Regions from separate parts of the Homo sapiens genome. Here region 1 is linked to region 2. The links are contacts of gene promoters, found by promoter capture Hi-C in blood cells and fetal thymus (Javierre and others, 2016). All regions are on one chromosome and are shown on one strand. The core of a region is centred on a gene start or on the middle of the fragment in contact, and the rest is flanking DNA. Distances in the headings are between cores, read along the strand shown. Region 1 holds the start of KRTAP10-9 (keratin associated protein 10-9). Region 2 holds the start of TSPEAR-AS2 (TSPEAR antisense RNA 2).

Region 1 (3,765 bases), core at 470-2,969, 110 kb before region 2:
GGCCAAGCTCTCTCCGAGTGGAACTCCTGAGTGCTGGGACAGCTGGAGCCCAAGTCTCCACACCCACCCCCCACCGCCCGTCTCCCACCTCCCAGCACAGCTGGGGCCTGCCACCCCCCGGGACAGCCCCAACCCTTGCCATGGGAAGGAGCTGCTTCTACCCACAGTGAGTGGGGCATTAGCCTGAGTCACGTGGTGTCTGTGGGACTCAGCCAGTGAACAAGGCTTTTGGGCCCCACAGGACCTGGGAGGGGAGCCGGACAGCAGAACGTGCCACGAGGTGGACAGGAGCTTCCAGGTGTCACACAAGAGCCCCCCGAGGCCCCCCAGCTGGGGAAGTAAAGAGATCCACGGGGCCCAGCCCCCCAGAGCCAGGCCAGGCCCCACTCTGCCCCCTCCCGCCCTGGGTGCGGAGAGTCAGCACGGAGTCAGCTGGGGCCGCAGACGCTTTATTGGTGCTCAGGGGCAGAGGGTGACGCTGCTGGGGGTGAGACCCGGGTCAGGAGGGCCCGTCCCCAACCAGCGACCAGCGGAGGGTTGTGGTCTGCAGCCAGGAAGCACCGTGAGGAGAAGCCAGGGCTCGCCTGCCCGGGGGGGAGGTCAGGGAGGAGCCAGTGAGCATCTGAGACCCCGGGGCTGGGCGGCTGTGGCTGGGGCTGCTCCTTCTGTGTTGAGCTGTGCTGAGGCTGGGTGGGCTGGGAGGTCCAAGGACTGGCAGGGAGGTGGGGCCTGAGCCCGGCTGGCCCTGGGGGACATGACCGTCAGCAGCTGGACTTCTGGCCTGAGGAGAAGCTGTAGCAGGCCGGGCGGGAGCACACAGGGCGGCAGAGAAGGGACACACAGGAGGCCTGGCGGCAATAGCTGGGCTGGCGGGAGGAGGTGGGGGCACAGCAGGAGGAGACGGGCACGCAGCAGGCGGGCCTGCACACAGGGCGGCAGAGGAGGGACACAGAGGAGGAGGGTCTGCAGCAGGAGGTGGTGCAGCAAGCCGGCTGGCAGCCAGACTGCTGGCAGCACAAAGAGGAAGCCCCAGAGCAGACAGGCACACAGCAGATGGGTTTGCAGCAGACAGGCTTACAGCAGACAGGCACACAGTAGGACTGCTGGCAGGGGGAGGAAGTGCAGCAAGCTGGCTGGCAGCTAGACTGTTGGCAGCATGAATAGGAATCCTCAGAGCAGGTGGGCGCACAGCACACAGGTTTGCAGCAGACGGGCACACAGCAGGCCGGCTGGCAGGAGGAAGAGGCACAGCAAGCTGGCTGGTAGCTAGACTGTTGGCAGCACGAAGAAGCCCCACAGCAGACGGGCACGCAGCACACAGGCTTGCAGCAGACGGGCACGCAGCAGGCCTGCTGGCAGGGGGAGGAGGTGCAGTAAGCCGGCTGGCAGCTAGACTGCTGGCAGCACGAGGGCGTGCAGGAGCTGGTGCAGCCTGATTGGCAGGGGCTGGGCTCACAGGTCACCTGGCAGCAGGGGCTGGATACACGGCTCACTGGGGTGCAGACCAGGGTCAGGCAGGGGGCCGGGGCGCAGCAGCTGGTGGCGCAGCAGGGGGGCTCACAGCAGCTCTCTGGGCAGTCGTCCACCTGCCAGGAGTCGGAGTAAGCGCTGGAGCGGATGGACATGGTGGACGCGGCCATGCTGGGGTGGGGAGGAGGTGAGCTGGGGGAGGTGTAAGTGAGTGTGTGAGTGTGTCAGTGAGTGAGTTTGTGAGTGTGTGAGGTTCTTGGGGCTCTCAGGCTTTTATACCCCTCCTGGCCTTGTTGTTCCAGGGCCCACAGCTTCCCCTTCCTTGTTGCTGAGAGGCGGCGTCTGCCATGATTAGGGATGTTTGTTTGCTGGTGACATTGCCCAGCTCACAAATCTCCTGTCACACCTGGGCTATAGTCTGTTGCATGTGGAACCTCAGGGGCAGGAGTTGGGGTGGGCCTGATCCCAGCTGGGTTCTGGAGGCAAGGACGGCTGTGGGCGTCTGGTGGGTGGGATGTGGGTGGGATGTGCCTGGGGCCATCTTTGGTTGCTGGGGCATCGTCCAGCCACTGGCCCCAGCAGCCTCAGGACACGGGCTTCCTCTGCAGGAAGCCGGCCCTTAGGAATTATTTCCTGTGGTGCAAACTCCTCCTCTAGTATGGTCCTTCCCCTGCTGTAGGACACAGGACTCGCCAATTTCTAATCCCCATGGCCTCTGTGCCTCCTGCCCTCTGTTCATTGCCCACCCTGTCCTTTGCTTGGGAGGCAGCAGGACTCTGTTCCAGGGCAGGGATCGTGGGCTCAGCCCACTCCTTGCTGAGGCACAATGGCAGCATCGTGGGCTGTGGTTTCGGGTTCTGAACCCGTGAAGTAGCTGTGCTAGGCAGCAGGCAGCCGCCAGCCCTCGCCACTGCTGGAGCCATCTCCTCCGTGTGCCCTGCACTGCAAGCATCTTTTTCTCACCAGCCCTGCCCACAGGCCCCATCACACACCCCCAGGTCAGCCACAGGCAACTCTCACGGCTGCATGATCTTTGATGATGAATTGTTATCACCACAGGGCATGATGAAGTCCCGAGCTTCTTGCCTTATAAAATGGCCCTGATCACTTTCCAGGAACATTGCTACCCAGCAGCTAATTATAATATTGATTGTGATTTCACATTTTTATTTAAAAATTCAAGTACACATACGCATATTTCATTATAAAGTAAGACGTATTACACGATGTTGAGTAGAACGTCTTTGTTGCTGTGAATCTGGCAAAGCTGGAAACGGCCTCTCATTCTAAAAATAATGCTAACATTCTGGGTCAGACCTGTCCCCACAGGGTTTCTAAAATAAGACAGAAGTTGACCAGCTATGGCCAGCTGCCACACCCCACCAGTGCTGCCCAGGTTGTAAGAAGGAGGCTGTGGAGGCAGGGGTGGCCCTTCAGTCTTACGCAAAGTGTGGTGTCCCAGGGAGAGAGTCCTCCAGCTACTGTCCCTGGGGGTGTCTCTAAAGTGGGTCCTCACTGAAGAGGCAGAAGCAGCTGGTAGAAGCACAGGATCACTGGAGCAGCCGGAGAGAAGGTGCAGCAGTGGCCAGTGAGCCCCACAGTGGTGGCCCTGCACATTCCTTCCCCCGTCCCCATCACTGAAGAAATTAGAGCCCAAAACAGGGAGAAGGGGAGCAAGGAAAGAGAGGCCATGCCGCTCCCCGCGGCCTTCCCCGAGGTCCACTCAGACTTGCATGTGGGAACGCTGGGGATAGGACTGGGTTTCAGACAGGATAGAAAAGTTTTGAACTGGTCCATTTTGGGCTATGGATTTGGTTCTGCTCTTTCAGGCCATAGCTTTATGATACGCTTCAATCATAGATAATTCAAGTCCCATTATCAATATTTCTTTTTGTAAAAAAAAATTTTTTTTGTAGAGACCAGAGTCTTGCTATGTTGCCCAGCTGGTCTTGAACTCCTGGGCTCAAGTGATCCTCCTGCCTTGGCCTCCCAAATTGCTGGGACTACAGGCGTAAGCCACCGTGCGTGGCCCATCATCAGTATTTCTGTGCCAAGTCTCCTAACTTTTCATGCTCATTTTCTTTGCTGTGCTCAGCTCCCATTCTTCAAAGGTAAGCTTCATGTGGGCAGGAAGTGTGGTTGTCTTGTTCACCACTCAGTCTCTGAGGGCCTAAAATAATGCCTGGAATAGGGAAGATCCTTCATAAAAATGGGCTGAAATAATAAATGTTTTTGGAGAAATTATCGAAGAGTAATTTTGACCTCTGAAAACGATTCCATTATGCTACCTTTTTC
Region 2 (4,184 bases), core at 1,366-3,865:
AGAGGGGCTTGCTGCCACTGGTCCCTGTTATCCACAAGGACACAGAGGCTCAGAACGGTGGAGGGCTTTGCCCGTGGCAGAACTGGGATCAAGCCAAGCAATGCGGCCTGTCACTTGGTTTGATGTGGCACGGGACAGAGCTGAGCATAAGTTCCTTGTCTTACTGGTCCCTGCACAGTCCTCTCACCACAACACGCATGCTGCTAAGACTCTGGGAAACTACAAGGGTGTCCTGGGCTGGTGGCCACGTGCTGGTGTGCGGACAGCGGACCTGAAGGAGGGTTCAGGAGCCTTCGGTCATGGGTTAGCCTGACCACAGGGCTCAGCAGGAATGGCCCCTCTGACCAGTAATCATTGACCTGGAGTTGGACTTGAGGCTGGTGAGGTTGAGATGCGAAAGCAGCTGCAAGCTGGGGCCAAGAGCGTGATATGGGCTGGAAATTGGGACTCCCAAGGAGGGCTCGATACGCGGGGACAGTGGCTCAAAAGGCAAATGGTGGGCTGGGCGCAGTGGCTCAAGCCTGTAATCCCAACCCTTTGGGAAGCCAAGGCAGGCGGATCACAAGGTCAGGAGATCAAGACCATCCTGGTGAACACGGTGAAACCCTGTCTCTACTAAAAATACAAAAAAAAATTAGCCTGGCATGGTGGCGGGTACCTGTAATCCCAGCTACTCGGGAGGCTGAGGCAGGAGAATGGCGTGAACCCGGGAGGCGGAGCTTGCAGTGAGCCGAGATCACGCCACTGCACTCCAGCCTGGGCGACAGAGTGAGACTCCATCTCAAAAACAAAAAAAAAACAACAAAAGCAAATGGTGACATCGAGCAGCAACGAAAGGGTGGCTTGGGGACTTGGGCACAGCTGCAGAGCACAGCAATCCGGCCGACAGCAGTTCCCGTGGAAACACCCGGGGCTCCACACCAGTCATGTGTCATCAGGATCATACTGGTGCCCTGACATGAACGTGCGCCCTGCTGGCCCCAGGCTCACACATGCAGAGCCCCAGCACACTGGAGCATGTTTGAGGAGCTTTGCCAGAACCAGGAAGGGATTTGAAACGTTATCACACAAGGAATAGTTGCAGGACTTGAGGCTTTATCCTGAAAGAAGACGTAGGCAGTCACTTCCAATCATCTAACGAATGAGCTGGTGGGGGGCAGGGGGCGGGCCTCCAGGGGGTCTTGAGAGCAGAGTCGCGCACCCTGGATGGAAAGGCACCACAAGTGACTTTCTCGTCAACTAGGCAAGGTCTCCTAACAGCTGTTGTGCCACGGAGAGGCTGCTGTCCTGGAGGTCCTGCATTCTAAATCACAAAGTGAGGTGACAAGAGAAAGGATCCCTGCAGTGGGTTGGGGAGTGCGTTTTGGAGATTATCATCCTAGATCTACCAACACCGTGATCCTAAAGCCCCTGTGATAACACCAAGTCCAATTTACAGTGTCTTCTTCACGACACTGCACCAAGGTGCTCAAGATGCCCCAGTGCCCCAGAGCGTACCTGGCCAGCTGCGTGTCACCCATGCCATCCTCTCCAGCTAAGGGTCCCCGGATGTTTGACAAAAATCCTGAAAACTGCAGGAGTCAGGCTAAAGAAAAAGGCTGAAAGAAACTGAGCTAGCTCTAGAAACAGAAAGGAATTTTTTTAAGTTATACTTGTCTTCAGAAGTATTCAAGATGATACTGCACTTACGAAATAAAAAATGCTACTAATGAGACAGAGAGCTTGGACATTAAAAATGCAATTGCTGGCATTAAAAGAAGACATTCATTAACATGACTGAAATATAAAGTTAAGAGTATCTTCTAGAATGTAGAATGAAAAGAGACAGAATCAAACCAGGAGAGTCTGTATCTGGCTAACCAAAGTTCTAGAAAAAAAAGAAGAGGGTGAGGACAGTGATGGAATTGTCAGAGAAGGCTTGAAGAAAACCGCCCAGATCTCATCAGACTGAAAGGGCGCTGAGCCCAAGGAGCGCGAGAGCAAAGGAAAGTTACCTTCAAAGCACACAGGAGCCGCGGCAGCCTGGGATTTCCCATCGGCAGCCCTGGATATCAGGAGGTAGGAGGGCTCAGTGTTCTGAAGGCGAGTGATGTCCACAGAGCCCCCGCAGGACAAGGACGCTGGCCACTGCCATGCACGGCTCCCACATGTCAGTGGCTTCCTGCCATATTGGGTTAGTTCTCATATCAAGTCAGACAAGGAGCACACACGGTGGGAAGCAGCAGGAAGGGGCTGACCTGACCTGTGCTCACAGCCCATGGGCCAGTGCCAGTCACATGTCCCAGCCTAGCTGGACCTGTACTCACGTGTCCTCACAGCTCATTGGCTAATGCTTGTCATATGACCCAGCCTAGCTGGACCTGTGCTCACGTCCTCACAGCTCATTGGCTAGTGCCAGTCACATGACCCAGCTTGTCCCTGTGTCACGTGTACTCACAGCTCATTGGCTAGTGCTGGTCATATGACCCAGTCTCCTGTCAGTCTGAGACCTGTGGGAGCCCTGGACTAGGCGGTGTTCCTGGGGGGTGCACTGGCAAGCCCAGGTACTCAACCAGAATGAGAAGATCAGAACTGGAAGTGGTGGCTCCACCCAAAGATGACCATAAGGAAAGTTCTGGAATGAGAACTGGTATGTGTCCTAGAGAGAAGCCAGCCCAGATGGTCTGGGGTCAGGGAGGGCATAAGAGGGGGTTTGGGGGCTGTGGAGTCCACGGAGCACAAAGTGTGTCCAGGGATGGCGTGCTGAAGGAGTGACAGAAGCACAGACTGCAGGAGTCGAGGAAGGCAGAGACACAGGGGCCAGGCCAGGACGGCCTTCCTGTGCAGCAGCCGCTGAGGTGGGACAGGACCGAAAGCCCCAGGGTGCAGGAGCGAGGGGCTCCTGCGATGGGAAGATGGGAGAGCTGGGAGCGTTCTCGCATGCAGAGCTGGTGTGTTTTCTTCCTCTGGGAAGGAAGGAGGGGAGGGCCATACCCAGGAGGGGACAACTAGAAACTTGTTGAAAAGCAGCGTACATAGATCACAGGTCCAAGGACGAAGCAGGTGAACCCGTCCTGTGATTTTAAGCATGAAAGGAGAATGTTTGCCTGGCATGGGGGACTGCCCCAGGGATGGCACAGTTGGTCATCCCGACATAGAAATCGCCTGGGTGGGTGGTGCCATAGCCCGGCCCCTGGCTCTGGGGGCTGACATTACCGTAAGGTCAGGACCACACGAAGCTGATCCTGATGTGTCACTCAGAGAATCGCCCCGTGGCCGAACCCACCCTGGGCGCGGGTGTTGGTGTTTATTAGTGGAGGTACAACCCAGGCTGCTTGGGGGAGGGGAGAAGGAGAGCAGAGGCCCTGCATCTCCATCCCACACCCTACACCGTGGGTGAAGAGGCGAGGCCAGAAGCCGCCCACCAGGAATCAGAGGAGCTCCCAGCAGCACCCACTGAGGAGGACAGTTGCCACAGACCCTAAGCAGGAGCAGCTCTGCCTTCAGGTGCCCAGACCAGGTGCAGGCAGGCAGCCTGGCGCTCCCAGATAAACAAGGCCTGGCAGCCCTGGCCACTGCCCTGCATGTGGAGCACAGCTCCCTTCACTCCTGACAGCCTCATTCTGAAAGCCCTGGAATTCCTGCTGATGGCAGCCTTCCTTGTTTTCCTGTTTTGGAAAGCCTTTTGGAGATTTCTGGAAGGTGGTCTGTGGCTGCGCATCCTCAGCTGGTTGGCGATTCCACCTCAGACCCATCTCACAGGTGTGGAAACTGAGGCTCAGGAGCAGGGACCTGGCCACAAACACACGGCGGTAAGCGGCCGAGCCAGGGCGTCCACAGGTGTCCCTGTGTCCACATGAATCGCCTCCTCTGTGCCTGCCCCATGGGGATGGAGCCTGCAGCCTGGTTTGGGCCGTGACGGGAGTGCCTGGGACGCCTCACACCATGGTGGGGTCTCAGCCCTTCACTCATGGGGCCCATCCCTTTGATGGACTACCTGCTCTTCATGAAATGACGTCGGGACTGGATTCTGAGCTTCGTTGATCTTTGTGTGTTCTGGAAGGCAGTCGGGAGGTGTTCGTGGAACGTGGTTACCGAAAAACACGGGGCTTCTGTCACGGGTGATGTGGTGGAGGTGGCAGCCCAGCCCAGAAGGCGGCCACTCTACATTTTCAGGCCGCGTGTGAAGGCCAGCTTTGATCTAC

What was found. Contacts are between HindIII fragments. The CHiCAGO score rates a contact against its expected background, and 5 or more counts as called.
Region 1: the fragment with the promoter of KRTAP10-9 here is called in contact with the fragment with the promoter of TSPEAR-AS2 in region 2 in 6 of 17 cell types (naive CD8 T cells, naive CD4 T cells, total CD8 T cells and 3 more); the score reaches 7.8 in naive CD8 T cells.

What each region holds. Positions count from the first base shown.
Region 1 is chr21:44,625,047-44,628,811 of GRCh38, reverse strand. It overlaps KRTAP10-9 (keratin associated protein 10-9), which reads right to left and starts at 1,719. Exons shown (of 1, transcript NM_198690.3): 1 at 434-1,719. The coding sequence starts at 1,640. The coding sequence ends at 762. The region is part of intron 1 of TSPEAR (thrombospondin type laminin G domain and EAR repeats); the gene reads left to right. RefSeq lists an enhancer at 2,099-2,794. The HindIII fragment of the contact is 20,057 bases long and covers 1-3,588 here.
Region 2 is chr21:44,515,646-44,519,829 of GRCh38, reverse strand. It overlaps TSPEAR-AS2 (TSPEAR antisense RNA 2), which reads right to left and starts at 2,615. Exons shown (of 2, transcript NR_026548.1): 1 at 1,995-2,615; 2 at 853-1,202. All of the region lies in intron 9 of TSPEAR (thrombospondin type laminin G domain and EAR repeats), which reads left to right. TSPEAR-AS1 (TSPEAR antisense RNA 1) reads right to left here. Exons shown (of 7, transcript NR_103707.1): 7 at 3,255-4,184. RefSeq lists an enhancer at 1-82. The HindIII fragment of the contact is 11,587 bases long and covers 1-4,184 here.